Linked DNA regions of Homo sapiens: regions 2, 3, 4, 5 and 6 are each linked to region 1. Evidence: promoter capture Hi-C in 16 types of primary human blood cells and fetal thymus (Javierre and others, 2016). All regions are on one chromosome and are shown on one strand. The core of a region is centred on a gene start or on the middle of the fragment in contact, and the rest is flanking DNA. Distances in the headings are between cores, read along the strand shown. Region 1 holds the start of ZNF345 (zinc finger protein 345). Region 2 holds the start of ZNF329 (zinc finger protein 329). Region 3 has its middle 2.6 kb from the start of ZNF586. Region 4 holds the start of ZNF671 (zinc finger protein 671). Region 5 holds the start of ZNF154 (zinc finger protein 154). Region 6 holds the start of ZNF805 (zinc finger protein 805).

Region 1 (5,060 bases), core at 712-3,211:
TCCAAAGTAGCTGGGATTACAGGTGCACACCACCACGCCCAGCTAATTTTGTATTTTTAGTAGAGACGGGGTTTCACCATATTGGCCAGGCTGGTCTTGAACTCCTGGGCTCAAGTGATCCACCCACTTCAGTCTCCCAAAGTGCTGGGATTACAGGCGTGAGCCACCGCACTCATGCTTGGTTTTTTTGTTTTGTTTTGTTTGTAGAGAGTATGCTGTTCAGGCTGGTCTCAAACTCCTGAGCTCAAGTGATCCTCCTGCCTCAGCCTTCCAAAGTGCTGAGATCACAGGCATGAACCACCATGCCCGGCCCTTCCTGCCATTGTTAAAAGCTTCAGGATTATATTTTACATCAGCATTTCCTGTTGTCATACACTTCCTGCCATCATATTTCGGCAACCTCTACCACCTCCCAAAGTTTCTAGCTTAAAAAATTATTGATTTCCTCCTAGCTCCCCTTTCTGTCAGTTTTTTAATTTTATATTTGTTTTCAAATGAGTCCTCACATTGATTTTAAAAATTTAACAAGAGTATAGTGAAAAGGAAGTTCCCCTTTCACTATTTATCTTCCCCATATGCATCTATTATGACGGGTTTCTTTTTTAAACTACTTGGAGTACTCATAACTGATTTTGTACTCTAGTTCAGAAGAAATGTCTGAATGTTAAATGTTTACATAAAAAATGCTATTTTATTATATCAGTAATGGAGCTTCCCCCCTTTAAAACTGCTGCACCAGGAAGATACAACCTTGTTATCACAATTTAAAGAGAAAATGAGACTTGGAGGTTCAGATTCCTCCACAGTCATAGTATCAGCTACCCACGCAGTGACCCACATTCAGGTGATTACACACACTCATACACAGATCCATACACGATCTTGCCCCCCCCACCTCCACACACTCAATATGACCTCCCCACGCCCAAAGCTGCACACATCTTGACCTCACTTCTCTCACACACACACCAATCTGACCCGCACGCGGTTTCTTTCACTCAACTACCCAGACACCCCTCATCCCACCAGCACAAGCAGGCCCACCGCGGTCTCACACACACTCGAGCCTTCCTTTGCCCAGTCTCACATGCATGACTGGGATCGCGGATTTGTCCCCTTCCGACTCCCCATGCTGGTTCGGTCCCAGACGCTCAGGTGCCACATTGGGGTGCGCTCTCCCGGCTCCTCCACACGCTACGCAGCTGCCCGCCTCAAGAGCGTCTGCGTGCTTCCAGCGTTAAGTGGAATTCCAAGCAGCCTCCGGGGCACAGTTAGTCTGGTCACTGCGGCCAGACTGCCGCCTCAGGACCCAGAGAACGCAGCACACTTTAGTTGGGCCCATCTATCCCCGGCGAGGCTTGGACTACGTTTCCCAGGAGACCCTGCGGTCCAGTATGTCTCCCGAGGAGGGGCGGAAGCCCGGGAGCCGCCCTCTGAGGCTGGGCGGGGTGAAAGAAAGCTTGCCCCAGAGGACTTAAACAGGCAAGAAGGACTTGGTTAAAGACTATTGCAATAGTCAACTTCCAATACAACAGCAGCTGGAGATTTATAGCTAACGGGCTGGGTGAAGGAGTTAAAGGATGCTAAATTACTAAGAGGAAGTTAAGTATCAAGAGTGGGGGGATTGTTACTAAACTGGCTTAGCTGGATTCTTGCTGAAGTGCTGTTCGCAGGCTATGGAGGAGGCCTGGCCAAGCAAAAAGGGCTCAGAGGAGCCTGACTAAAGCTTGGTCTAGGGACTCCTTGTCAGGTGAGACTCCCGGAAGGCTCCGATGGGCAGCTCACCTCAAAGAGATAGTTTTGTTGGTGCCAGAGTCCGCGCCAGGGGAATCGGGATGGCTGGGCTGTAGCTTTCGGCAACCTGTCGCTTTCTGGACTACACTTCCCAGAAGCCTCTAGGCCCAGGGCACTCTCCCGCGATAACTAGATTGTCTCTTGAGGAGTGGGCGGGATCTTCCCGCGGATTTGGGCAAGCGGCCTTGGGGCTTTGTGAGATAGCTAGGGTCGACTTGTGTGGATTCTAGTAGAACGGAGCTGACCCTATCCGAACAGGCGTAAGTGAGGCGGCTCGGAGCCTGGCGCGACAGGAACTCCCGACCTGTGTGGGCTGCGTGGGGAACAGGCTAAGGAGCGATTGTGAGGAGTGTGTACGGTTGTGACTGGGGGCGTGTGTCTGTGCGACCGTGTATGGAACTGTGAGGGCGGGGAGGAGGACTTTTTGTTTATGTTTGTGCGGGTGTGAGTAGAGTTTAATTGTGACCGGGTTGGGCACTGTGTTTGCGAGTGTGAGGTTCCTGGACCGCGGTTGTGACTGTATGTCCCCTTGGGGTGTGTGTGTGTGTGTTTACTACCATTTGCCGAACTGTGTGTAGTATGCCTTAATTTTGAGGTTTGTGGCTGCTTCCGTGTGTGTGTGTGCGCGCGCGTTGGTGATATTGTTGATGGAGGGTGCGTGTGAATTTGTTGTCATTGTGACCCCAAGGTGTATGTCACTGGGAATTTGAGAGATGCCCACGGACTCTGTGGTTGTGTCCGTGTCTACCCCCGTGGTGTGTATGAGTGTGTGATTGTGTGTTGTGTTTAGGTTTGGGGTGCCTGTGACGTTTATGTCCCTGCGGTGTGAGTGAGTTTGTGTGACTATGTGTCCGTATAGCCAATGTAGGTATGGGGAGTCTTTGTCTTTGTGACTTCAGCCATTGGAGACCCCTGTGAGCTCAGGGACAGGTTCTGCCCAGAACGGCATTGACCCTACCGTTGTCTGTGATGCCCGGATTAAGCAGGATGCCCTAGACTTCTCTGACCTTCCTCTGTAGGTGATGGGCAGTAGGGGCTGAGCAAAGATAACTTCTGACATAGTCAAACCAACTCCCTCTCAGAAGAACCTGATGTTTCCTGACTGCTTTCTCCTTCCTCAGCCCTGCCCTGCTTGGATAGAGGCCTCCGAACAGGAGTAAAGAATGGCTGTTGAACATCCACAAGGCACCTGCAAGGTAGCTTGTCCTGTCCTCTTGTTTAAGAAAAATCCCTTTTTCTTTGTCAGGACATAGTTGCTTTCCTTCTCTTGAAAATTCTTGCCTATGAGATGACCTGATCCCTGGAGTTTCCATTTTGAGAAAATGTGGTGTCTTCAAACCCCACCTCCCACACCTGATTTTCCCTTACTGATTTGTCAGATGGTTTTAATTTTTCTTTTTCTTTTTTTTTTCTTTCTTTCTTTTTTTTTTTTTTTTTTTGAGACAGAATTACAGGCGTGAGCTGCTGTGCCCGGCCTTATCCTTCTACTCTTGATGGACATTTGTCTTGTAATTTTTGGCTACTACAGGCAGTGTGACTATGATCATTTTGTGCGCATATTTTGGTACACATTTGCTTGCATTTCTTTAGAATATATACCTAGTGATTAAATTGCTGATAGTGGCTGGATGCAGTGGCTCATGCCTGTAATCCCAGCACTTTGGGGGGCCAAGGCGGGCGGATCACGAGGTCAAGAGATCAAGATCATCCTGGCCAACATGAGGAAACCCCGTCTCTACTAAAAACACAAAAATTAGCTGGGCGTGGTGGCACGCGCCTGTAGTCCCAGCTACTTGGGAGGCTGAGGAGAATCGCTTGAACCCGGGAGGCAGAGGTTGCAGTGAGCCAAGATTGTGCCACTGCCCTCCAGCCTGGTGACAGAGTGAGACTCCATCTCAAAAAAAAAAAAAAAAAGTGCTAATAGGTAGGGTTTGTACATCTTCAGTTTTACCAAACATTGCCAAACTGTTCTCTAAAGATACTGTACTTATGCCAGCAGTTTACAAGAGTTTTCTTAGCTCCACATCCATGCTAGACATCATAAAACTCTTAAATTTTTGCCAATCTGGTGGGTGTCTAATGTTATATTTAATTTAAATTTCCTTTATTGCTAATAAAGTTGAGCATTGATTCTTGGCCATTTGAATGTCCCCTTTTTTGTTTTTTTTGTTTTTTTTTTTTGAGACTGAGTCTCTATTGCCCAGGCTGGAGTGCAGTTGAATGTCCCCTTTTATAAGGTGTTGTTCAAATATTTGACCAATTTTTAATTGGGTTTTTCTCTGATTTACGGCAGTTGTACATATGTGTATATATCTTCTGTAAATTAATCTTTTTTCAGTTGTATGTGTGATAAGTATTTTCACCTGCTCTGGTTTGACTTTTCACTCTATGTGGTGCCTTTTGACAAATAGAAGTTCTGGATTTCATTGTAATAAAATCATTTCCTATGGTTAGTCTTGTTTAAGAAATTTTTGTCTACCTCAAGATAATGAAGATTTTCTTTGGTCTTAAAGCCAAAAGCTTGCTTTCTTTCTTTCTTTTTTTTTTTTTTTTTTTTGACTCGAAGTTTCGCTCTTATTGCCCAGGCTGGAGTGCAATGGCATGATCTCGGCTCACCACAACCTCCGCCTCTTGGGTTCAAGTGATTGTCCTGCCTCAGCCTCCCAAGTAGCTGGGATTACAGGCATGCACCACCATACCTGGCTAATTTTGTATTTTTAGTAGAGACAGGGTTTCTCCATGTTGGTCAGGCTGGCCTGGAACTAGGTGATCTGCCTACCTCAGCCTTCCAAAGTGCTGGGATTACAGGCATAAGCCACCGCACCTGGCCAAGCCGAAAGCTTTCTAGGGTAGGCTTTAATGTTTAGGTCTTTACACCACCTGGAATTTTTATAGGGTAGGATTGAATTTCATTTTTCTCCCGAGTGTGTATCCAGTTATTATAGTATCATTTATTGGAAAGTTCATATTTTCTGCACTGATATGCAGTGCCATTTTAGTAAAAAAATCAAGTGAACATATATGTCTATGTCTATTTCTGGATTCTGTTCCACTGGTCTATTTGTCACTCCTCGCAGTAATAACATACTGTCTTACTCACTGTAACTTTGTATTTGGAGCAAGTACACTTACCTTCTTTTTCCTCAAGAGTGTCTTGGCTATTTGTGTTTCTTTGTATTTTCGTGTCAATTGTTGAATTAGCTTGGTTCCACCCAAACATCTCTTGGAATTTTGATGAAATTGCATGGTACGTATAATTTTTTGAG
Region 2 (5,060 bases), core at 1,563-4,062, about 21 Mb after region 1:
GAGAAATCGGATGGTTGCCGTGTCTGTGCAGAAAGTAGACATGGGAGACTTTTCATTTTGTTCTGTACTAAGAAAAATTCTTCTGCCTTGGGATCCTGTTGATCTGTGACCTTACCCCCAACCCTGTGCTCTCTGAAACATGTGCTGTGTCCACTCAGGGTTAAATGGATTAAGGGCGGTGCAAGATGTGCTTTGTTAAACAGATGCTTGAAGGCAGCATGCTCCTTAAGAGTCATCACCACTCCCTAATCTCAAGTACCCAGGGACACAAACACTGCGCGGAAGGCCGCAGGGTCCTCTGCCTAGGAAAACCAGAGACCTTTGTTCACTTATTTATCTGCTGACCTCCCCTCCACTATTGTCCTATGACCCTGCCAAATCCCCCTCTGCGAGAAACACCCAAGAATGATCAATTAAAAAAAAAAAAAAAAAAAGAGAGGAAGGTAAAAAATTTCCCTGTTTCTTCTTTTCCAGGTTCAGATTGGCAGGAAAAAAAAATTACAAATAAAAAACAATTAGTTTTTTGAAAAAAAAAAAGTATACTTGGGTGTGATAATAACACTAGTTTTGTTTAAATGTTCAAATGTTCTTTTTGGCTGGGTGTGGTGGCTCACACCTGTAATCCCACCACTTTGGGAGGCCAAGGCAGGAGGACTGCTTAAGACCAGGAGTTCAAGAACAGTCTGGGCAACATAGTGAGATCTCATCTCTATAAAAAATACAAAATTAAAAAATAAGAACGTTACTTTTCTTATGAGATCCTGGCTGAAGTATTTCAGAGTGAGGTATGATATCTATAACATACTTCCAGTAACTCAGCCAAAAAAACTAAGTGTATGTAAATATATGTCTGTATCACACCTGCCTCTGCAACACCTGCTGTGTGTACAAGTGTGTGTAAAATATAAAAAGAAAACCCTATGTCAGAGGCGTTTGAACCAAAGCAAACCTCCATCTTAAATGGGGACTGGGTAAAATAAGGCTGAAACCTACTGGGCTGCATTTCCAGACAGTTAAGGCATTCTAGGTCATAGGATAACACAGGAGATTTGCACAAGATACAGGTCATAAAGACCTTGTTGATAAAACAGCTTGCAGTAAAGGTGGCTAAAACCCACCAAAACCAAGATGGCAACGAGAGTGACCTCTGGTCCTGCTCCCACTAGCACCATGACAGTTTACAAATGTCATGGAAACATCAGGAAGTTACCCTATATGGCCTAAAAATGGTAGGCATGAATAATCCACCCCTTGTTTAGCATATAATCAAGAAATAACCATAAAAATGGGCGACCAGCAGTTCTTGGGGCTGCTCTATCTATGGAGTAGCCATTTTTTTATTCCTTTACTTTCTTAATAAGCTTGCTTTCACTTTACTCTATGGACTCGCCCTGAATTTTCTTTCCCAAGATATAAGAACCCTCTGTTGGGTTATAGCTCGGGACCCCCTTTCTGGTAACACCTATGCATGTGTCTCAGGCAGGGAGAAGATAAAGATAAAGCTAATGTGGCAAAAAGTGTTAATAATTTTAGAATCTGGATGGTTTTAGAAGTGTTAAACTATTCCTGCAACTTCTATGCAAATGCGGAACTTTTCAAAATGAAAAGTTGGGTGAAGAGAGAGGTAAACAAGCAGTAGAATGGAGGAAAGTCACTTGCTGTGGGAAAAAAGAAAAAACAGACAAAAACTGGGTATTCAAAACGTACTTCAACAAGCCCAAGTTCCTATAGCCAAATTTTTTAACTTGGCAAAAAATAAAGGACCTTTTCAGGCTGATGGTAATTTTAATAAAGGTTTAGGTTGCATTTGTCAAAATTCATCAATGGTACAGGGAATATCTGTGCATTTCACTGAAAGTCAATTTTGGCTCAAAAAATTTAAAAAAGCACTACTGAACTCTAATTCATGGTAAGCATAGTGAGGTGTTTGAGGGAGAAGTGTTGTGATATCTGCAACTTACTTTGAAATGTTTCCAAAAATAGGTGGATTAATGAATGGCTGAAAGGATGGACAGAAGGAAAGATAAGGGATACAGTAAGTTCAGCAGACGTTAACCGGGTCGTTCACTGCACAAGTCTTTCAGCTTCTCTATCTAAACCAACATTTTATGTCATAAAATATTGAGACTGGAAGACTGCACAAAGGAAATATGCCACTAAACCAAGGGAAAAGACAGCAAAATGGTCACTAAACACGTGCAAAAATGCGGCCCTCACTGAGAATTGCAGTAAAACATGATTTTGCAAATATCAAATGGAAAAACACACAGGTGATCTAACACCTTCGAGACTCAAGGGGAAGCGGCTCAGCCCACTGGCTCACGGCCGCCAATTCAGCCGGAGGCCGACCCAAGCCTACACTGCCCCTCACACCTGACAGAAAAGCTGCAGACTCGGGGGTTACCCCCGGAGACGGACCAGGACACCCAGCAGGCGTGGCAAAACAGTCTCTATGGGAGGGCGGGCTAGAGATGCGAGCGCGGAACTCACGGGTGACGCTAAGGAAAGAGCGGGGGCGTCCAGACCAGCCCCGGAGCGACCTCGTCCTCAGAGGAGTGACCCCAATCGCCACGGAGCGTCCCCACCCACCAGGAGAACTACGCCCCTGGCCAGACCCTCGCCCTAGCGGGCCCGACATGCCCACCACCCAGGTGAAACCCACCCGCGGACGCGCCCCTCGCCGCCCCACAAGGACCCGGCGGACCTCCACCCGCCAAGACTTCCCTCCGCAGGAAACGGAGGCAGCGCAGGGCTCAGGGATGCGTCGGCACTTACGGTTGGCGGCCGGCGGCAGCCATGTTCCGGGCGATTGCGCTTGCGCGGCTGCCGGGACAAGGATGTGCGCGTGCGCGGAGTCCCCGAGCTTCCCCCGCCCAACGCTGGGGCGGCCGCGGGTACCGGGTTATTCATTACCCTGGCGTGGACTTGCCTCGGGGCGGACGCGCAGGCATTTACTTTCTCCTATGGTCTCCTCTGATTTTTAACCCGATGCTATCATTCTTTTGTTATAGAGCCTTCCTTTTATTTACTGCATAATTTCCTAAAATATTTCTTTATCTATAATCTTTTTTTGAGATAATAATGTTAAAATTCAGAATAAGTACACTCATTATTCATTGGCAATATAATTATTTACTGGGTGCGTGGCTCACGCCTGTAATCCCAGCATTTTGGGAGGCCTAATTTGTTAAAATGACTAGATCTAAGAAATGTAAACAAAGCCAGTAACTTTCCTCTGTAGTAACAATAGCCGGTTGAAAATGAAAACTACACATTTTCATTCTTTCAGTGGTTCTCTTAAACTTTAGCATGGGGAAGCCTAAATATTTACTGACAGGGAAGAGAGAAACTGTGGTATGTGCAACGGAGCAATAGGGGGTGGTTAAAACAAACGGACTGGGCTCACCTAAGGTCAGGAGTTTGAGACCAGCCTGGCCAACATGGTGAAACCCCGTCTCCACTAAAAATACAAAAATTAGCTAGGCGTGGTGGCAGGCGCCTGTAATCCCAGCTCCTCGGGAGGCTGAGGCAAGAGAATCACTTGAACCTGGGAGGCGGAGGTTGCAGTGAGCTGAGATCGTACCATCACACTCCAGCCTGGGGGACAAGAGGGAGACTTCGTCTCAAAAAAAAAAAAAAAAAAAAGGACTAACTTATATACAAGATAGACAGTTCTCCAAAAACAGTTCGAAAAGTAAACTGTGCACTTATCCACATGATACAACTTACCTGGAAATAAAAGACACAAAATCTATATGTTATACAGAGATTGATACATAAGTAGTAAAGTAACAATAACATGGACCAGATAGATTGTCCAACCTCAAGAAAGTGGCAACTGAGGGGAAAGAGTTGGGGAGGAGACAAAGGAGACCTCAGTTACACCTGTGATGCTTGATAGGAAAAAACAAATCAAAACCTGAAAATCTGACTACATGTTAACACAGGTAAAATCTCGATGATACATGGGTGTCATCTTTATTATTTATAGATTATTCTATTACTCTCCGAACCTCTCCGCAGGTTGAAATACTTCACAATTTTGAAATGAAAATTAGAAAAAAAATTCTAAGCCATAATAGTGATTAAATTGTCACTCACAATAGTGATGGTTGGAGCAACTTGGAAATCAATTAGCAAAAGCAATAAAGGATCTTCATGAAGAAAATACAAAAACCTCATTAACAGACCTGAAGTTAAGTTCAGAACACACTGACATATTATTCCTGAATGGAAAGTATTTTTTTAATTTCTCCATGAAGGCCGTATCAGACCAGGCACAGTGGCTCATGCCTGTAATTCCAACTCTTTGGGAAGCCGGGCTGGGGGGATCACCTGAGGTCAGGAGTTCAAGATGAGCCTGGCCAACATGGTGAAACCCCATCTCTAAAAATATAAAAATTGGCTGGGCACAGTGGCTCATGCCTGCAATCCTAGTACTCGGTCTCAAAAAAAAAAAAAAAATCTTCACAAAACTACTAAACAAAAGTATAGCAATTCCAATTCAAAGACTCCCCCCGCCCCCAGCTCACAGAATAAAACAACTTAAAGATCATATGGAGAAAAGTCCAACAGTATCTGGTTAAAAGAACAGTCGGAGACCGGACGCGGTGGCTCACAACTGTAATCCCAGCACTTTGGGAGGCCGAGGCAGGTGGATCACTTGAGGTCAGGAATTCAAGACCAGCCTGGCAAACATTGTGAAACCTGTCTCTACTAAAAATACAAAAATTAGCCGGGGGTGGTGGCGGGTGCCTATAATCCTAGCTACTCCGGAGGCTGAGGCAGGAGAATTGCCTGAATCCTGGAGGCGGAGGTTGCAGTGAGCTGAGATCGTGCCACTGCACTCCAGCCTGGGTGACAGCTATACTCTCGTCTCAAAAAAAAAAGTCAGGCACCCTTTATTAGATACTAAAATGTACCATATTAAGCAGATGGGCTCAAATAGGCACTAATACAGACACAAATATCAGAAGAATAGAAGAGTATGCAAGAAGAGATGAGTAAAAGTAATAATCTAGTAATAAAGTTAACAATAAAGCATAACATCATTAATAATA
Region 3 (5,060 bases), core at 2,561-5,060, about 21 Mb after region 1:
CTGAGGTCAGGAGTTCGAGACCAGCCTGACCAACATGAAGAAACTCCGTCTCTACTAAAAATACAAAATTAGCCAGGTGTGGTGGTGCATGCCTGTAATCCCACCTACTCGGGAGGCCGAGGCAGGAGAATTGTTTGAACCTAGGAGGCAGAGGTTTCAGTGAGCCGAGGTCGCAGCATTACACTCCACCCTGGGCAACAAGAGCGAAACTCCATCTAATAAACAAACAAACAAAAAAAAGACAACAGGATTTTAGGCTTGGCTGACTACTGTCATAGCTGGATGTCCAATTTTTCTCTAATGCCACAGACTTTATATGCATTGTAGAAAGATCAGCCTAACCTCATACACTGGACATCAGAAGGACAAATAATAAATAAAGAAAAATCTTACAAGCCCCCGCTTTGGCCCATGCAAATTATTAGCTGCTGTTTTTCCTTTCTTTGTTTTTTGCGATTTTTTGTTCATGTAAGGCATGGCAGTTCCCTGGGTGTTCTAATTGAAAAACCTGGAGGACAATGTAGGGCTATTGGTTATTATAGTCAGCAATTAGACCATGTAGTACATGGGTGACCTCTTTGTCTGAGGGCCATTTTTGCCACTGCCATGCTCCTTACGATTACTCAGAAAATTGTAATGGAGGCTCCTCATTCTATAGAAGCTCTTTTGAATTCACATAATACACAGCAATTTTCCATTAATAGATTGGTTTCTTATGACAAACTTACACTGTCTGCTTCATATGCTGCCCTCTCTATCTGTAATACTCTTAATCCTGCAGTGCAACTTCCTGAAACAACAGATGAAATATTTCATCACTGTATTCTACTCACAGAATTGGTGTCCAGACAGGATTTATAGGACACATCATGTAAAAATGTTGATATTATCTGGTTCACAGATGGATCGGATCTAAAGGATACATTTTGAAAATACTGAGCAGGCTACAACCTTGTGTCTCTTGTGGACATCAGAAAGAGCAATCCCACCGGGTGCGGTGGCTCATGCCTGTAATCCCAGCACTTTGGGAGGCTGAGGCGGGCGGATCACAAGTTCAGGAGTTCAAGACCAGCCTGGCCAATATGGTGAAACCCCGTCTCTACTAAAAATACAAACATTAGCCGGGTGTGGTGGCAGGCGCCTGTAGTCCCAGTTACTTGGGAGGCTGAGGCAGGAGAATCGCTTGAACCTGGGAGGCAGAGGTTGCAGTGAGCCTAGACTGCGCCACTGCACTCCAGCCTGGGCAACAGAGGGAGACTCTGTCTCAAAAAAAAAAGCAAAAAAAAAAAAAAGCCATCACTTGCCTCAAGTAAAATCAGCACAGCTAGCTGAATTAACAGCACTCACCAGTTTGTCAACTGGCCAAAAATCAAATGGATAATATTTATACTTAAAGGTATTATGCTATTGGTGTAGCTCATGACCTTGGGATGTTATGGAATCAGGCTTTTTTTTTTTGATACAGAGGCTTGCTCTGTTGCCCAGGCTGGAGTGTAGTGGTGCAATCTTGGCTCACTGCAACCTCCTCCTCCCGGGTTCAAGCAATTCTCCTGCCTCAGCCTCCCGAGTAGCTGGGATTACAGGCGCTCGCCACCACCCCCGGCTAATTTATTTATTTATTTATTTTTTAGATGGAGTCTCGCTCTGGCTGGAGTGCAGTGGCGCAAACTCGGCTCACTGCAAGCTCCGCCTCCCGGGTTCACGCCATTCTCCTGCCTCAGCCTCCCGAGTAGCTGGGACTACAGGCACCCGCCACGGCGCCCAGCTAATTTTTTGTATTTTTAGTACAGACGGGGTTTCACCGTGGTCTCTATCTCCCGACCTCATGATCTGCCCACCTCGGCCTCCCAAAGTGCTGGGATTAAAGGCATGAGCCACCATGCCTGGCCAATTTTTGTATTTTTAGTAGAGACAGGTTTTCACCATGTTGGTCAGGCTGGTCTCGAACTCCTGACCTCATGATCCGCCCCCCCACCCCCCACCCCCCCACTGTCCCCCAAAGTGCTAGGATTACAGGCATGAGCCACTGTGCCTGGCCAGTGAGGTTACTTAACCTCCCCCAGATATCTAATTAAACATGGCTCTCAAGTTTCTGATCATTTAGAAGCCATCCGATTATCAAAAAAGAATGTTTTATTAACGTTCCTGAACATTCAAACTCACCTCTCCAAAGAGTAAAAAAAAATTATTTCGCAGATGCAGCAGCAAAAAGACTCTCTTGACACCAATATCACATGAAACTATAAAAGTCACTACATTCAAAATAAGTGCCATTGAACAGGAACTCCAAGGGATTCAAAAAGAGGCTTCAGATAAGAAAAAGTAGATATGGCTAACAAAGCGGTAATGCTTTTCCCCCATTTACAAATTTTGGTGTGGACCCAACAGGAGACCCATCTTGCCTTTGAGATTTCAATTTCTTATGGTACAACATGTTTATGAGCCAACTCACGGGAAATCTGAGAAAATGATTGTTTGGGGAAAGAAATACTACTGGAAACCCTCACCTCCATTACTGAATAAAGTTTACACTAAATATCCAATTTAATTTATACAAAGCATAATCCAAGAAAGCTTTTTTTTTTTTTTTTTTTTGAAACGGAGCCTCACTCTGTCCTCTGTCACCCCGGCTGGAGTGCAGTGGCGCGATCTTGGCTCACTGCAGCCTCCGCCTCCTGGGTTCAAGTGATTCTCCTGCCTCAGCCTCCTGAGTAGCTGGGATTACAGGCATGCGCCACCACACCCAGCTAATTTTTCTATTTTCAGTAGAGACGGGGTTTCACTATGTTGGTGAGGCTGGTCTCGAATTCCTGACCTCGTGATCCGCCCACCTCTGCCTCCCAAAGTCCTGGGATTACAGGCATGAGCCACCGCACCCGGCCAACTTTTTTGTTTGTTTGTTTGTTTGTTTGTTTGAGACGGAGTCTCGCTCTGTCCCCCAGCCTGGAGTGCAGTGGCGTGATCTCGGCTCACTGCAACCTCCGCCTCCCGGGTTCAAGCCATTCTCCTGCCTCAGGCTCCGGAGTAGCTGGGACTACAGGCGCCTGCCACCACGCCCAGCTAATTTTTTTGTATTTTTAGTAGAGACGGGGTTTCATCATATTAGCCAGGATGGTCTCGATCTCCTGACCTCGTGATCCGCCCGCCTCGGCCTCCCAAAGTGCTGGGATTACAGGTGTGAGCCACCGCGCCCAGCCAACTTTTTTTTTAAGTATAGAAAATTTTACAGGTTGGGCGCGGTGGCAGGCGCCTATAATCCCAGCTGCTCGGGGGGCTGAGACAGGAAAATCACTTGAACTTGGCCAAGAGGCGGAGGTTGCAGTGAGCCGAGATCGCAGCAATGCACTCCAGCCTGGGTGACAGAGCGAGACTCCATCTCAAAAAAAAAAAAAAAAAAAGAGGTGGAGATTTCCCAGAACTGAGGTTCCCTCCCCTTTTTAGACTATATAGGGTAACTTCCAAACATTGCCAGGGCATTGGTATACTGTCATGGCGCTGGCGGGAGTTAGTATGCTAATGCATTATAATTAGCGTATAATGAGCAGTGAGGATGACCACAGGTCACTTTCATCACCATCTTGGTTTTGGTGCGTTTTAGCCAGCTTCTTTACTGCATCCTGTTTTATCAGCAGGGTCTTTGTGACCTGCATCTTGTGCCAACCTCCTATCTCATCCTGTGACTAAGAATGCCTAACCTGGGAATGCAGCCGAGTATTTCTCAGCCTTACTTTATCCAGCCCATTTTCAAGATGGAGTCACTCTGATTCCAATGCCACTGACAATGATAAGCACTTGCCAGCAAAGAGGTGAACGCATGGATTTAAGGCACTTGAAATATCTCAGTGTAAAAGCACCCTGTGCATGTAGCAGGACGAGCCGCAGACAAAACCTCTCAGACACCGAGTTGCAGAAGGAAGGGCTTTATTCAGCTGGGAGCATTGGCCAGCTACTGTCTCAAAATCTGAGCTCCCGGAGTGCACAATTTCTGTCCCTTTTAAGGGCTCACAACACTAAAGATTTCACATGAAAGGGTCGTGATTGATTTGAGCAAGCAAGGGGTATGTGACAGGGGCTGCATGCACCGGTGGTCAGGGAGGAACAGAACAGGGCAGGGAGTTTCACAATGTTCTTCTATACAATCTAAGGAATCTATGAATAACATCGGCTTCTAAATCATAAGTTGATTTTTAACTACTGGGTTTAGGCCAGGCGGGCCTAGGCCTGGTTTCGGGCCTGGCGCGGGGTTGCCTGTCTTTGGTTTTACTTCCTTGTTGTTTTTACTGAATATAAAACAATGTGAGAGGGTCTCTCTCTTCTCTCATGCATACATACTCCATGTTTGAACACCGCAGCCATTGTCCTGTAACATAATAGCATTTGTCTCATTAGCTTTTTGATGTTGATATCAGATTTCTAGAGGAATCTGTAGGTTAAAGATATAAATAAAAGTGTTGCTAATGGGCTGAGAACGGTGGTTCACGCCTGTAATCCTAGCACTTCGGTAGACCATTGCAGGCAGATCACTTGAGGCCAGAAGTTCGAGACCAGCCTGGCCAAAATGAGGAAACCCCGTCTCTACTAAAAATACAAAAATTAGCAGGGTATGGTGGCACACGCCTGTAATCCCAGCTACTCGGATGGTTGAGGCACGAGAATCGCTTGAACCCGGGAGGCATAGGCTGCAGTGAGCCAAGATCACACCACTGCACCCCAGCCTGAGTGACAGAGAGAACTATGTCTTAAAAAAAAGACAAAAAAAAAAAAAAAAGGAAGAAGCCGAGCATCACAAATTCTGAAATAAGAAGTCTCCAAACACGCGGGCAATCAGTTGCACACAGTACCCCCAGAAATGTGCGTATGGCCTCTTCTAAGATGGGAGACCCTCCTCCGCATCTGGACCTGGAGTCGCCATTTCCTAGCGCCCCTCGCAGTGGAGCTTGCCCCTTTCTTCGGAAAGTCGGAAGAAAGCCACCTTAAGCGCTGCCCATGTCTGGGAACTACATTACCCAGAATCCGCCCTGCGAAATGGTAACGTGGCTGAGCCAATGAAGCTTCAGAGA
Region 4 (5,060 bases), core at 1,044-3,543, about 21 Mb after region 1:
TGGCGGGTGCCTGTAATTCCAGCTACTCAGGAGGCAGACAAGAGAATTGCTTGAACCCAGAAGGCAGAGGTTGCGGTGAGCCGAGATTGTGCCACTGCACTCCAGCCTAGGAAACGTGGTGAAACCCCGTCTCTACTAAAAATGGAAAAATTAGCGGGGTGTGGTGGTGGGCACCTGTAATCCCAGCTACTCGGGAGGCTGAGGTAGGAGAACTGCTTGAACCCAGGAGACAGGTTGCAGTGAGCCGAGATCGCGCCACTGCACTCCAGCCTGGGTGACAAGAGCAAGACTCCATCTCAAAAAAACAAAACAAAACAAAACCTGGCCAAGGCATGGTGGCTCACTCTTGTAATCCCAGCACTTTGGGAGGCCGAAGGGAGTGGATCAACTGAGGTCACGAGTTTGAGACCAGCCTGGCCAACATGGTGAAACTCTATCTAATAAAATACAAAAATTAGCTGGGCATGGTGATGCATGCCTGTAATCCCAGCTACTGGGAAAACTGAGGCAGGAGAATCACTTGAATCTGGGAGGCAGAAGCTGCAGTGAGCCAAGATCGCACCATTGCACTCCAGCCTGGGTGACAGAGCGAGACTCGTCTCCAAAAAAAAAATAAATAAATAAAATAAAACCAAAGCCAAGTGCAGTGGCTCACAACTGTAATCCAAACACTTTGGAAGGCTGGGGCCGGTGGATCAGTTGAGGTCGGGAGTTCAAGACCACCTGGGCCAACACGGTGAACGTCCCCCCCACTCCCCCGCCCCCACCCCACCCCTCCCACCTCCCCACCCCACCCCACCCCTCCCACCTCCCCACCCCCGTCTCTACTATAAATACTAAAATTAGCCAGGGGTGGTTGTGGGCACCTGTAATCTCAACTACTTGGGAGGCTGAGGCGGGAGAATCTCTTGAACCCGGGAGGTAGAGGTTGCAATAAGCCACTGCATCCCACCCTGGGCGACAGAGTGAGACTTCGTCTCAAAAAAAATAAAAAAAATAAATAAACTAAAACTAAAAGAAAACACACAAAATGAGGGTGAGATAATCAGATAGTAGCAATAGCACACCACCCATCGTTGCCATCCCAGGCCAAACTCCTCATACCCTACAGCTCTCTCCTCCTGCAAACACTGAAAAGAACCCTTTCAAATGGCAGGACCCTTCTCTTCTGGGGGGAGTCTCAAGAATGCCCACTCCCTCTTCCCTGCCCTGCAGTCCCAGCCTTCTCATCTCTTACCCCAGAGATATGAAATAACATACTTAAGACTGCCCCACTTAAATCTGACCTCCTGGCCTTGACCTACTCCAGACCGCTCCCTTCACCCCAAAGATATTCTAAGCCCAGCCCCTTCCCCACAACTTCAGACCTTCCTCTCTAGTTGCCTAAGTGAGGAAGCCTCCACTCTGAGACATCTCAAAGTCACCATTCCAAAATCCAAACGTTCATGGAAAAACAACAAAAACACCTTGCTCTTTCATGCCTTACTTTCAGTCATAGCTGCATATGATGGAGCAGAAAATCCTGTTGGTTTCAAATTTAAAACCTACCCAGAATATGATCACTTCTACCCACTCACCTGCCATTACTCTTGGTACATCCACCACCAAAGCATTCCTGGAATCCACTGCAGTAGCCTCCTTACCGGTCTCCTCGTATCCATCCTCGCAGTCCCCACCCCAAACTAATGTTCTCCCCTGAGCAAATTTCGAGACACTTAAAATCCCAGCTAAGATCACGTCCTTCTATTCAAAACCCTCAGTTAATCTCAACGCCCTCAGAATGAAGCGACAACTTCTCAGCCTGCCATTCCAGTCACAGTTCCTCAAACTCTGCTCTGTGTTGATGAGAACCCTGTCTCCCAAATGTTTGGGGGTCAGCAGCACCCCCGAGCCTTTACCTGCGCCGTCCCCTCCGCCCGTAACTCTCCCACACCCACCCACACCGAGATAGGACCCCGCCCCAAGAGTGCGTCGCTGTCCTGGGACACAGGGGCTGCAGGCACTTTACGATTCGGAGTCGGAGAAAGGGTGACTGAGGGCCCGGAGGACGCAGCACCCACCCGCGCGGAGTCCGTTAGCTCCGCCATAGGACCGTGGGCGCGGACAGCTGCCGGGAGCGGCAGGCGTCTCGATCGGGGACGCAGGCACTTCCGTCCCTGCAGAGCATCAGACGCGTCTCGGGACACTGGGGACAACATCTCCTCCGCGCTTTCCCAACACCTCCACCTGCGGCCCACACAAGCGTTACAGAACCCCGGCCAGGGACAGCCTGACAGAAACAAAATGTCCGCTACAAGGAGGAGCCGGAAGTCCCGCCCACGCACCCCCCGCAGGCACTGAAACACCCCTCTCCTGGGCCCTCATTGGGTATGCAACGTATAGGTTTGTGGGTAGAGTGTGGTTCCCACTGAGCTATCCTTCAAGGCAGGGGATTCTCGGCCTGGGCTCTTGGGAAAACTCGAAGTAGGAGGGCCAAGTTGTTTGGGAAAAGTAACCCGAGTTTCAAAGGGCTGACAGGACTTCCGTCCTCTTTTTTTTTTTTTTTTTTTTTTTTGAGACAGAGTCTCGCTCTGTCTCCCAGGCTGCAGTGCAGTGGCGCGATCTCGGCTGACTGCAACCTCCGCCTCCCGGGTTCAAGCGATTCTCCTGCCTCAGCCTCCCAAGTAATTGGGACTACAGGGGCCCGCCACCACGCCAGGCTAATTTTAGTACTTTTAGCAGAGTACGGGATTTCACCATGTTGGCCAGGCTGGTCTCGAACTCCTGACTTTGTGATTTGCCTGCTTCGGCCTCCCAAAGTGCTGGGATTACAGGAGTGAGCCATGGTGCCCGGCTGACTTCTGTCCTCTTAAAAGGCCTGGACCTAGATTCCCTGGAGTGTAGTATGCACCGATCGCAGAAATGTTGAGACATTTCAGATGTTCCCCAAAGCTGCAAAACTAAATAGATACACCACACCACAATGTCTCTTTGCGTACACTCACAGCTAGAAGCTAATAACTATTACCTTGTTGCTTTTTAAATATGTGTGCACTCAAGCTTTACAGTAACTTTTGTGAGCTTCAGTTTGGTCAGAGACGGAAGAGAAAATATTCCAAACAAGGCCTTGGAGTGGAAGAAGGAAGAGGGATGATGTGGAGTCTCCCTGAAACCAGTGGACAGATTTCTTCAGAAAACTCTTCCTGCCTGGGTAATCAGTGATGTCTCCATCACAGCAAAACACAGTGCAATTACCATTTAACCTGTCATTGTCATTGTAAGTATGGTGTCTGTGTTAGGAGGTGAGATTATCCCCGGGGGAAAAATCCTGACAGCTATTAATAATGATTCCGTAGTTATTTGAAGATAATGAAAGAAATTGCTCTAAGGAAATATCTGTGATAGATGGACAAAGTTAAGATCTCAGTAAAGTTTGAGCCTGAATACTAAAGTATAAGTGAAAGAATGAAGTTAAGCATATGGTTGTGTTGTGATCTTGACCACACTTTGTCAACAAAATGTGACTCTTTTTTCCTGAAAATGCTGAGCAATTGTAAAGAAGATATCAGAATGGTAAAAATCAACAGTGAAGTTGTGCTGTCTTGATAATTCACTGTTAAAATACACATCCAAGGAACACATACGAGCTCTCAGTAGGTGTTTTTCAAATGTGTTAGTAGCATGAAAGACATCACTAATAAAATTTCCAAGATTCCTATACATACAGGACATGTCCTGCATATAATGATTTTTGTCCTGCATCACCTTTTGACTTTGTCACAATACCCTAAATAAATATTCTAAAGAAGGCAACAGTCTTAAAGAAAAGAATTTTCAACCCGGAATTTCATATCCAGCCAAACTAAGCTTCATAAGTGAAGGAGAAATAAAATACTTTACAGACAAGCAAATGCTGAGAGATTTTGTCACCACCAGGCCTGCCCTAAAAGAGCTCCTGAAGGAAGCACTAAACATGGAAAGGAACAACTGGTACCAGCCACTGCAAAAACATGCCAAATTGTAAAGACCATCAAGGCTAGGAAGAAACTGCATCAACTAATGAGCAAAATAACCAGCTAACATCATAATGACAGGATCAAATTCACACATAACAATACTAACCTTAAATGTAAATGGGCTCAATGCTCCAATTAAAAGGCACAGACTGGCAAATTGGATAAACAGTCAAGACCCATCTGTGTGCTGTATTCAGGAAACCCATCTCACATGCAGAGACACACATAGGCTCAAAATAAAGGGATGGAGGAAGATCTACCAAGCAAATGGAAAACAAAAAAAGGCAGGGGTTGCAATACTACTCTCGGATAAAACAGACTTTAAACCAACAAAGATCAAAAGAGACAAAGAAGGCCATTACATAATGGTAAAGGGATCAATTCAACAAGAAGAACTAACTATCCTAAATATATATGCACCCAATACGGGAGCACCCAGATTCATAAAGCGAGTCCTTAGTGACCTACAAAGAGACTTAAACTCCCACACAATAATAATGGGAGACTTTAACACCCCACTGTCAACATTAGACGGATCAACAAGACAGAAAGTTAACAAGGATATCGAGGAATTGAACTCAGCTCTGCACCAAGCGGACCTAATAGACATCTACAGAACTCTCCACCCCAAATCAACAGAATATACATTTTTTTTCAGCACCACACTACACCTATTCCAAAATTGACCACATAGTTGGAAGTAAAGCACTCCTCCGCAAATGTAAAAGAACAGAAATTATAACAAACTGTCTCTCAGACCACAGTGCAATCAAACTAGAACTCAGGATTAAGAAACTCATTCAAAACCACTTAACTACATGGAAACTGAACAACCTGCTCCTGAATGACTACTAGGTACATAACGAAATGAAGGCAGAAATAAAGATGTTCTTTGAAACCAACGATAACAAAGACACAACATACCACAATCCTGGGACACGTCCAAAGCAGTGTGTAGAGGGAAATTTATAGCACTAAATGCCCACCAGAGAAAGCAGGAAAGATCTAAAATTGACACCCTAACATCCAATTAAAAGAACTAGAGAAGCAAGAGCAAACACATTC
Region 5 (5,060 bases), core at 1,909-4,408, about 21 Mb after region 1:
TGTTTGGGAGAAGAGTAGGGAGGGAAACTTGTACTCAGGCCATTTGATGCCACCCTGATTTCACCAGATGTCATACTGGGCCTTAATTTTAGACTTTACACCATAACTTAGCACACAGCGTCCAGAGTATGCTCGACAGATTCAAACGGATCTAATACTACCCTAGATCTCCCAGGGCATCCACTAGTGGTAGCAGCCCCAAATCCTATGAGGGCTCCCTGGCTGGCTCCATTCTTTGCCTCAGATTTAGGCCACACAGAACCACATGTGCATCTCAGATACCCATGGCCCTATTCCACTTCCGTGCTGCACTTGCTAGCCCCTCAGCAGTAACAACCTTCCTCTGTCCACTTAACACTCAAAGACTAGCTCCACTGATCACCTACCCCAGGCCAAGTGACTGTCACAGATGACCACATTGGCACCTGGCCTTATCCTCCAGGTTGAATAAACACCCTAGGCCCCATCAAAGTCATCAAAAAATCCTGGTGATTCCACAGAGTGCTGAATAAGCACAAAGGAAAAAAAGGACAGCCATTTGCCTCAAATACACCTATGCCTCTGCATCCACCTTATATCCACTCTTCCCTTGAAAGTGTATGCCACCTGCCCAACTATCCTCTCCAAACACCCTACCTCCATAGCCACTAACCTCCCTTACCTCTGTTTAGAAAGCCCAAGAATATCACCCACTTATCCAACCAAAAGGCTTGGTCCTTAGCCCCCATTCTGCCCTTCCTGGCCAAATAACCTGTACCACCATGCCTAAAGATTAACCCTTGTAGGCCGGATGCGGTGGCTTACGCCTGTAATCCCAGAACTCTGGGTGGCTGAGGCGGGTGGATCACCTGAGGTTGGGAGTTCAAGACTAGCCTGACCAACATGGAGAAACCCTGTCTCTACTAAATAAATACAAAATTAGCCGGGCGTGGTGGCGCATGCCTGTAATCCCAGCTACTCGGGAGGCTGAGGCAGGAGAATTGCTTGAAGCCGGGAGGCGGAGGTTGTGGTGAGCCAAGCTCGCGCCATTGCACTCTGGCCTGGGCAACAAGAGAGACACTCCATCTCAAAAAAAAAAAAAAAAAATAGAACAACCCTTCTAAATGTAATCCACAGCTCACTCACCTTAGTCCACACAATGACCACCACATTTTGGATGTCTCCATTCTGAAGCACTCCCCAGATTTCCAGACCTGGGTGTTCAGCCACCTACTTAATGCCTACTTAATGTCTCTGAAACATCTCAAACTCTTACATGACCAAATAAAGCTCCTGTTGTCTCCAGTGAATATTACTGTTAATACCAACTTCTCCATCTCAGTTGAAGAACCATGGGGTCATCGCTGAATCCTGTTTCACTCCCTCGCTGTCTACATCAGAAAATTTAGTTGCTCCCTTTAAAAATTTGCATCCAGAATGCAACACATCTCCTAATCAATGACTCTGGTCCATTACCCTGGACTGGCTGTAGCTTCCACTCTGATCTTCTTTCCTCTTCCCTCAACCCCACAGTCTGCTCTCCACGCTAACGGGATGGACCCTGTTAGGACTTTGGTAAGATCACCTCCCTCTTGTAACCCAAATCTCTCATTACCTCCAGAATAGGTACCCAACTTCTCAGGCAGCCACTGCAGTCCTGACTCCTTCCCCCTGCTCTTTGTTCCCAGCTAAAAGGAAACAGATCTATGGTTTCCTCAAAAATCTCAGCTTAGTTTTACTAAGCACTTGCGCCTCCTGATACCAGTGCCAGAGATAACCTTTCACAAGTTTCCACTGGCTGACAAAAATGGGAACACCTCAGTATAACCCCTGTAACCTCTGGCATGGACTTAAGAGCCCTGGGCTTGGAATTTCTCCAGGGCACCAGACCCAGGATTGGGGTAACAGCACTTAAGAATACTAGGAAACCACAATCCCAAGAACATGGGGGTAGAGGCTACTGAGGGACCGAACACTCTCCACTTCCCTATGTGAGTTCCATACGCCCTTCTACAACTGGGAGAACCAGGGAAAGAGGAATGCATCCCTGGTGAGGCTAGATGAGCTCAAGCCTCCCTGTAGCCCTGCCTGGCCCTGAACTCAGGCTGGCTGTTTTACTTTCTGGTCTCAGTGCTGTCACCTCTTGCCAACTGTAGGGCAATGAAAAAAAGATGTAGCCTCCCACTATCTCAATGTCCTCATCGCCCCATCGCTGCTCTTCCTGTGAACAGTCTTTGGAAAAGTTTTTAAACCCTAACATAGGGCGGGCACGGTGGCTCACGCCTGTAATCCCAGCACTTTGGGAGGCCGAGGCAGGAGGATCACTTGTCAGGAGTTCCAGACCAGTCTGGCCAAAATGGTGAAATCCCGTCTCTACTAAAAATACAAAAAATTAGCCGGACGTTGTAATCCCAGCTGCAGGCTTGTAATCCCAGCTGCTGGGGAGGCTGAGGCAGGAGAATCGCTTGAACCCGGGAGTCGGAGGTTGCAGTGACCCGAGATCGCGTCATTGCACTCCAGCCTGGGCGATAAGAGCGAAACTCCGTCTCAAAGAAAAAAAAACTAACATAAATGGCGTCCCTCCTTTGTTCAGAACTCTCCGTGGCTTCTAGCATCCTCACAATGACAGTACAACCCTAGGAGTAACTCCGCCTCATATTCTTCGTTCCCTGCAGAAAACAGCTTTCCGAATTCTCCTGGCTCAGTCGCGCCTCAACCTTTGCACGCGCCGGTTCCTCCGCCTGTCACGCTCTCCCACACCTCGTCACACGCAGTGTCAAAAAAAGGGCCCCACCCACGAACGCCTCAGTGTCCCCGACCCTGGGCAGCGGGGACTCGAGCAGGCGCCCCTCACTGATGGCTTTAGAACGTGGGTGGGGGAAGGTGTGTGAGGACGGGAAGACGCCGCACTCACCTGAGTTGGCGTCCTCAGAGTGGCCGCTGCCATCAGACTCTGCGGGTAGAGCTGGGCCGGGAGCGACGGGCGACATTGGTAGGGACCCGGGGACAGCGGTCCCTATCCCAGGCCTGACGTGGGTCCCCCAGGGCGGCGTCGCCAAGGCTTAGACGCTTTCGTGCAGGAGGGACGACGACTCCCCTCACGCCTTCGTGGCCCCAACTCGGCGCTCTGCTATCTCTGATCCGGTGAACACACCTCAGAGAAGCTAAAATGGCCGCCACGAAGAGGCCCCCCCAAAAGTCCCGTCCTTTCTTTTTGTGACTCTCAAGGAAAGTCGGTTTTCTGAGCTCTTACTGGCTTAGTAGCGTGGCGTTCAACGCAGAGCATTCTAGGTAATGTAGTTTTCATAGATCCCGAGGTGGGTGCCGGGGACCCTTTGCACCAACCTCTTGGAGTAAAAGCGAAGCTCCAGGGCGCTGGGCGATGAGAAATGGCTTATCCAAGTCCTAGGGCAGTGGAGGGACTTCGCCCTTTCTTAAATGGGTCGTAATCAGACAGCATATTAGAGGTGCCATCTGCAACTGATCACCCAAGTGTTTGGGGAATATTATTTCAAACTTCATAAAGTTCAGCAGGCTCCCAGAGGCTAAAATTATTATCAGACGCTCCCTAAGGCTGCCAATCCAAATATGTACATCATTCCATAGAGCCATTCAGACACGAAATATATCCACTAGTAGGGAAGCTAATAAACATTACCATATAAGTTTATTCCTTTTTTTTTTTTTTTAAGACAAAGTTTCCCTCTGTCCCCCAGGCTGGAGTGCAGCGGCGCCATCTGGGATCACTGCAACCTCCGCCTCCCGGGTTAATCGATTCTCGTGCCTCAACCTTCCAAGTAGCTGGGACTATAGGCGCGCGCCACCACGCCAGGCTAATTTTTTGTATTTTCAGTAGAGACAGGGTTTCACTATGGTGGTCCCAAATTCCTGGCCCCAGGTGATCTGCCCGCCTCGGCCTCTCAAAGTGCTGGGATTACAGGCGTAAGCCACCGTACCCAGCCTCTATCATATTACATTTCAAATGTATGCACTCCGAAGCATTGAAGTCAGTCTGTGCACTTTTGGTCAGGGACAGGTGAAAAACTACTTCAGATAGTGGCATGATAGTGCTTCTAGAAGATAGAAGAGAAATGTTAGATCACCTTGAAACAGTAGTACAAAGGTAGAATTCTGTCTGATTCCAACAGAAAACATCTTTTGCCTGCATAGTCAATTATTGTGTCCAATTACTGTGTCCAGTCAATAACTGTGTCCAATTCACTGAGCAACGCTTTTATCCATTTCATAATTCTTACTTGATATCTGAGATATATTCCTTCTAGAAGTCTAACATCAATCTCAAAAAACAATGAAAGAAATGCTACTTTGATAAGAGACAAAGGGGAGAGGTGGGACTTCTTAATCAGAAAGCCGGTGAAATGCACTTGAAGGAAGTGAGAAATGAGCCATGTGGGTATTTTTAGAATAAATTCCAGGCAGAAGAAGCAGGTTACTAGAGTGCCTGGATGGATGGAGACTTCACAGGGCATTTCAGCATTGGAGGGCCTAGGGCTCCAACCCAGCAGGCCTTCATCTGCTTTGCTGGCTGCAGAGACACTCAGGGTATATAGGTGAGAAATCTCTTCTTTTTTTTTTTTCTTTTTTTTTGAGATGGAGTTTCACTCTTATTGCCCAGGCTGGAGTGCAATGACGCAGTCTTGTTTCACTGCAACCTCTCCACCTCCTGGGTTCAAGCGATTATCTTGCCTCAGCCTCCCAAGTAGCTGGGACTACAGGCGCACGCCATGACACCCAGCTAATTTTTGTATTTTTAGAAGAGACGGGGTTTCACCATGTTGGCCAGGCTGGTCTCGAACCACTGACCTCAGGTGATCCACGCATCTCGGCTTCCCAAAGTGCTGGGATTACAGGCATGAGCCACCGAGCCTGGCCGAGAAATCTCTGCTGCTTTGTTATAAAGTTTTGGAGCCGCAAAATAAATAGCACTCGAATATAAAATTTTCTTTTTAATTCTCAGCAAGGTAATGTACTTTTTTTTTTTTTTTTTTTTTTGAGATGGAATCTTGCTCTGTCACCCAGGTTGGAGTGCAGTGGCGCGATCTCGGCTCACTGCAAGCTCC
Region 6 (5,060 bases), core at 2,561-5,060, about 20 Mb after region 1:
TTGGAGTCCAGCATGGGAGACAGAGTGAGACACCGTCTCAAAAGAAAAGAAAGAAAACTCTTGTCTACTTTCTGCAGATAAATTCCCTGAGGGTACATAAACCTGCCACCTATCACAGTGGCTCCTTGATCCAACTTACTATTCTCCATGTTTTCAGGAGTATGCCATTTGTAAAACAGGACTGTCATCAACCCAAAGGTCCACTCTCTTTTTATGGACATCAATATGCTGCTGTCTCAGAAATAAAATGTTTCACTGCACGTCAGTGCAACCCACTTCTTAAGTGAATACACTAGCACCTCTGTGTTGTGTTGCACTCTGATGACATTAGAATAAGTCATTCCTCATAATAAATGTAATATCACCTCTTCTGAAATTACTGCATGCTGCAATTTGGGGAGTGGCCTTCCAGCCTTCTGTAACCTTCTGTGACAGCTTCATGTGGCAGCTGCTCCCTGCACCCATTATAAACTGACTACCACAGTAAGCATCTAGACTCCTCAGCTGTAAGCTCAAATGTTTTTTGATCAATGCAGTCAGTTACACCAGTATTTCTCCTAACTTTAGTTGTTAAGCACTTTATATGGAGTTTGCCTTGTTAATGTTACTCCTATCATTATATTCTACAAAGTCTCCTCATTGTGAAATATCCAGCAGTTGCAGGCATGATTTCTGCTATGACCAGACCCACTACGTAAGCATAAATAACTCAGCCACTTCACTTGGATGAAAAGCTCCCACTATTGCAGATCTATAAGTTAAATACTCCAAGACATTGGTTCATGGTTTTTAACCTGCACTTTCAGTATTTACCTCTTTTTTGTTTTTTCTTTCTTTTACCTGCATGGGGAGACACAGTGCTTACCTCTATATGCTTTGCTTCATCCTATCAGTTTTCCTGAATTAACATTTTAAACACTTGGCAATTCCTAATAAATTAACTGGTTCACACATATAAACTCTTACACATTTTAGGTGCTGGATAAACACATCACTGGGCACATTTTTGGCAGGTAAGGATAGAAAAATCACTAGGGCCTCAGCACTGATCACCAGATGATATATGTTTAAATAATGAAAACTCTGTCATGCTTTACATGAGGGATTTGAAAGTGTCCCCAGGCCGGGCGTAGTGGCTCACACCTGTAATCCCAGCAATTTGGGAGGCTGAGGCAGGCAGATAAACATGTGAGGTCAGGAGTTCGAGACCAGCCTGACCAACATGGTAAAAACCTGTCTTGACTGAAAAATACAAAAATTAGCTGGCCATGGTGGCTGTAATCCCAGCTACTTGCGAGGCTGAGGCACGAGAATCACTTGAACCTGGGAGGTGGAGGTTGCAGGGAGCCGACATTGCGCCACTGTACTCCAGCCTGGGCAACAAAGTGAGACTCTGTCTCAAAAAAAAAAAATTGTCACCAATATCTACATAGCTTTCTTCAGCAGCACTGATTCCAGACATTCCATGATGGAATATAAATATACTAACTTTAATATCTGTTCTGCATCCAAAGCGAAAACTAATTTAACCCTACGGGTCATACACATATGGAAAGGAGAATTATTCCTCTCTTCTAAATTGGGCAAATTAGTATTGTCAATGATGAGTAACAGTGTCAACAGCTTGCACGCTAATTAAGCAACATTTCTCAATAATCTCATTTTACAAATAATACCTTCTAGAAAATTGATTCCATCTACATTTCCACCCAGTTAACATCCTGTCATGATACTTTCTCCACTTTCAAATCTCTGGAGGGCATTTTCTGCACACCTTGTTTCCATTTTCATAACCATATGTATTGTCAAATCATTGAAAGCTGGATTTTATTCTCTAACCTTCATAGTCATGAGAAGAAAAAAAACAGTCACCAACGGAGACTACAAAGGTTTTGTATAATATGATTTTTTTTTTTTGAGACGGAATCTTGCTCTCTGGCCCGATCTCGGCCCACTGCCGTCTCCGCCTCCCAGATTCAAGCGAGTCTCCTGCCTCAGCCTCCCAAGTAGCTGGGATTACAGGAACCCGCCACCATGCCCAGCTAATTTTTGTATTTTTAGTAGAGACGGGGTTTCACCATGTTGGCCAGGCTGGTCTCAAACACCTGGCCTCAGCTGATCCACCCGCCTTTACCTCCCAAAGTGTTGGGATTACAGCCGTGAGCCACTGCACTCGGCCTGTATAATTCTTAAAAGATTGTTATGACCCTAACATGACTTTGTTGCTTTCTTGTTTGCAACCAGTTAGTTCAGGGTTGTCAAAAGGCCAAAATTACAACAAATTTAGTTTTAGATCTAATTGACTTTTGTTTGTGATTCATGAATTGAGGCAATCTCTGTTCTACACAATAGAAATTAGAGTTCCCACTGGGCAATGGCAGAACAGTGGGTTTTGTAAGGTGGGAACAATAAAATAGAACAATAGAAAAAAAAGCTGATTGGTTAACAGATTACTTTTTCTAAGGGTTAAAGCAGAGGGGACTTCCTAATTTCACTAATTCAGGTAGACTGAAATCTGCTTTTAGGAAAAACTGGGATCTGTCTGCTTCCTTAAAACTTCAGTTTGATTAGATGACATTTAGTATGAGAGACGCCATTTTGATTTGGTCAGTGAGGCCTGCTGTAGGAGCTCCAAAACAATGGCCTCCTGTAATTTTTGTTTAACAATGTTCACCTCTTTCCATTCCTTTCTCCATCTATGCTCATTTTTTTTCATGGTCTTGTCCAGTATCATAACTTGAAATAACAGTGTTTGCCAAAAACTTCCAGATTTTTATGTCCAGGCACAACTTCTCTCCCAATATTCAGTCAGAGATTGAACTGCTGTGACACAGACACTCTGTGGTCATACAGACATTTCAAACTGATCATGCTTAAAGTTGGAGTCATGAGCTCACCCAGTCCAAGACTCCCCACGTTAAGGAATGTCAAATCTACTCTACCAGGGCTCTCAGCCAATACCTAAAGCAAAAGTTGCTGGACCATGTGAAGACCAAGCTTGGCCAAAGAAGGCCCAAGAGAGACAATGCATTTGCAACATGTCCCAGCTGGACAGGGTCTTGCTCTATTGCCCAGACTGGAGTGCAGTGGTGCAATTACAGGTCATTGCAGCCTCGACCTCCTGGGCTCAAGAGATCCTCCCATCTCAGCCTCCTGAGTAACTGGAATTACAGGGGTGTGCCACAATGCTCAGCTAATTAAAAATTTTTTTTGAGTAGGCTGGATGCTGTGGCTCATGCCTGTAATCCCAGCACTTTGGGAGGCCAAGGTGAGTGGATCACTTGAGCACAGGAGTTCAAGACCAGCCTGGGCAGCATGGTGAAACTGACTACAAAAACTACAAAACAAAACAAAAAAACCCTCAATTTGCTGGGCGTGGTGGTGCGTGCCTGCAGTCCCAGCTACTTGGGTGGCTGAGGTGGGAGGATCACTTGAACCCTGGAGTTTGAGGCTGCAGTGAGCTGTGATCGCGCCACTGCACTATGGCCTGAGCAACAGAGCGAGACCCTGTCTCAAAAAATATATATATAAATATATATATAAATATATATGTGCATATATATACGTATATATACATATGTATATATACGTATATATGTATATATGTATATATAAATATATGTATATATAAGTAGAGAGAGAGAGAGAGAGAGAGACGGAGTCTCACTCTGTCGCCCAGGCTGGAGTGCAGTGGCGCGATCTCGGCTCACTGCAAGTTCCGCCTCCCGGGTTCACATCATTCTCCTGCCTCAGCCTCCCGAGTAGCTGGGACTACAGGCGCCAGCCACCACGCCCGGCTAATTTTTTGCATTTTTAGTAAAGACGGGGTTTCATCGTGTTAGCCAGGATGGTCTCGATCTCCTGATCTCGTGATCTACCCGCCTCGGCCTCCCAAAGTGCTGGGATTACAGGCGTGAGCCACCGCGCTCTATTTTTTTTCTTTTCTTTTTCTTTTTTTTTTTTTTTTGGTACCAATGAGGTCTCGCTCTGTCGCCCAGACTGTTCTCAAACTCCTGTCCTCAAGCGATCCTCCTGCCACAGACTTCTGGGACCACAGGTGTGCGCCAGCACACTCAGCTTATTTTAAAAAAATTTTTTTTTTTTTTGGTAGTCTCCCTATGTTGCTCAAGCTGGTCTTGAGCTCCTGGGCTCAAGCGATCCGCCCCCCTTGGCCTCCCAATGCGCTGGGATCCCAGGCCTGAGGCATCGCGCCGCCCGACGTCCCCCTTTGGTTACTCTGACTGCCCGCTGATCTGTATAAGAGGATCCGGAGGGGAAATAATGCAAGGTGGAAGTCAGAGTCCGGAGCCTGGTCCAGGGTCTCTGCACTGGCCCTGACCCTGGCAAATGTCCCTGACTCCTGGGGCTCGATTTCCTCCGGCCAAGAATGGACGGTCTCGCGCTTGGTCCCTGGCCTCCGAGTTGTGCCCCCAGGACAGAGGCAGGTCTGAGCCGGGCTGTAGGCCCGCTGCGACTTTTACACCGAGGCCTGCCGGCTCAGGATCTGTCCCCTTTGCAGGTGGTTTGTAGAGAAAAACTACATTAACTACAAGGCATTGCCAGGTGCGACGGCGGGCCCTGGGGCCAATGATGGTCCAGGACAGGGGCGTTTCCTGTGGGTTGCGAAGCTTGGGGCGGGACTTCCGGCATTTGGATGGGACGTAATTTGGGAGCGACGGTTCCGTCCACGCCGGCTCTAGGGAGGGGGCGGTGTTCCGTGGCCGCCTCCCTGGCGGCGCTGGGGAAATGAGCAGGTAGGAGGCCGACAGCGACCTCCGCGTCTCGGAGCGAACCGTGAGCCTCCCCGTAACGAGAGAGTTTGACTGTCAGCCAAGGTCACCGGGCCCGGCGCAGGGAAGGGGTGGGGCTCGGCTGAGCCCGCGAGACCCGCCCTGCTCGCCGCAGCCCCCGCCCCGCTAGGGCCACAGGGTCCCGGTATGGCGATGGCTTTGACGGACCCGGCGCAGGTGAGTGGACAAGGTTTCGGCCTTGCTGCTTTTCTGCTAGTTCGGGGAAGCCTCCTGGGCAGGCCGGAAGCCAAGACAGCCACAGGATTCCTC

What was found. Contacts are between HindIII fragments. The CHiCAGO score rates a contact against its expected background, and 5 or more counts as called.
Region 2: a contact is called between the fragment with the promoter of ZNF329 here and the fragment with the promoter of ZNF345 in region 1, in 6 of 17 cell types (non-activated CD4 T cells, total CD8 T cells, total CD4 T cells and 3 more). The highest score is 20.9, in non-activated CD4 T cells.
Region 3: a fragment that was not itself captured here is called in contact with the fragment with the promoter of ZNF345 in region 1 in 2 of 17 cell types (non-activated CD4 T cells and naive CD4 T cells); the score reaches 16.4 in non-activated CD4 T cells.
Region 4: the fragment with the promoter of ZNF671 here is called in contact with the fragment with the promoter of ZNF345 in region 1 in 3 of 17 cell types (non-activated CD4 T cells, naive CD4 T cells and total CD4 T cells); the score reaches 15.4 in non-activated CD4 T cells.
Region 5: a contact is called between the fragment with the promoter of ZNF154 here and the fragment with the promoter of ZNF345 in region 1, in 2 of 17 cell types (naive CD4 T cells and total CD4 T cells). The highest score is 7.6, in naive CD4 T cells.
Region 6: a contact is called between a fragment that was not itself captured here and the fragment with the promoter of ZNF345 in region 1, in 3 of 17 cell types (naive CD4 T cells, total CD4 T cells and naive CD8 T cells). The highest score is 10.5, in naive CD4 T cells.

The regions. Positions count from the first base shown.
Region 1 is chr19:36,848,915-36,853,974 of GRCh38, forward strand. ZNF345 (zinc finger protein 345) reads left to right here and starts at 1,962. Exons shown (of 3, transcript NM_001242472.2): 1 at 1,962-2,054; 2 at 2,916-2,990. It also overlaps a transcript of ZNF790 not described here. RefSeq lists an enhancer at 1,485-1,724. The HindIII fragment of the contact is 2,588 bases long and covers 1,725-4,312 here.
Region 2 is chr19:58,147,977-58,153,036 of GRCh38, forward strand. It overlaps ZNF329 (zinc finger protein 329), which reads right to left and starts at 2,813. Exons shown (of 4, transcript NM_024620.4): 1 at 2,776-2,813. RefSeq lists an enhancer at 2,890-2,949. The HindIII fragment of the contact is 7,703 bases long and covers 1,360-5,060 here.
Region 3 is chr19:57,764,545-57,769,604 of GRCh38, forward strand. No RefSeq gene overlaps it. Among named protein-coding and RNA genes, the nearest start is that of ZNF586, 2.6 kb to the right of the region's middle. RefSeq lists an enhancer at 4,856-5,060. The HindIII fragment of the contact is 2,477 bases long and covers 2,573-5,049 here.
Region 4 is chr19:57,725,331-57,730,390 of GRCh38, forward strand. It overlaps ZNF671 (zinc finger protein 671), which reads right to left and starts at 2,294. Exons shown (of 4, transcript NM_024833.3): 1 at 2,061-2,294. The coding sequence starts at 2,198. RefSeq lists enhancers at 1,993-2,493, 2,011-2,450, 2,591-2,640 and a silencer at 2,447-2,672. The HindIII fragment of the contact is 7,103 bases long and covers 1-3,037 here.
Region 5 is chr19:57,706,046-57,711,105 of GRCh38, forward strand. ZNF154 (zinc finger protein 154) reads right to left here and starts at 3,159. Exons shown (of 3, transcript NM_001085384.3): 1 at 2,894-3,159. The coding sequence starts at 2,926. RefSeq lists enhancers at 2,747-3,386, 3,130-3,259, 3,280-3,339. The HindIII fragment of the contact is 9,236 bases long and covers 1-5,060 here.
Region 6 is chr19:57,235,955-57,241,014 of GRCh38, forward strand. It overlaps ZNF805 (zinc finger protein 805), which reads left to right and starts at 4,678. Exons shown (of 4, transcript NM_001023563.4): 1 at 4,678-4,967. The coding sequence starts at 4,938. RefSeq lists enhancers at 4,276-4,495, 4,516-4,785 and a silencer at 4,906-4,975. The HindIII fragment of the contact is 1,631 bases long and covers 2,996-4,626 here.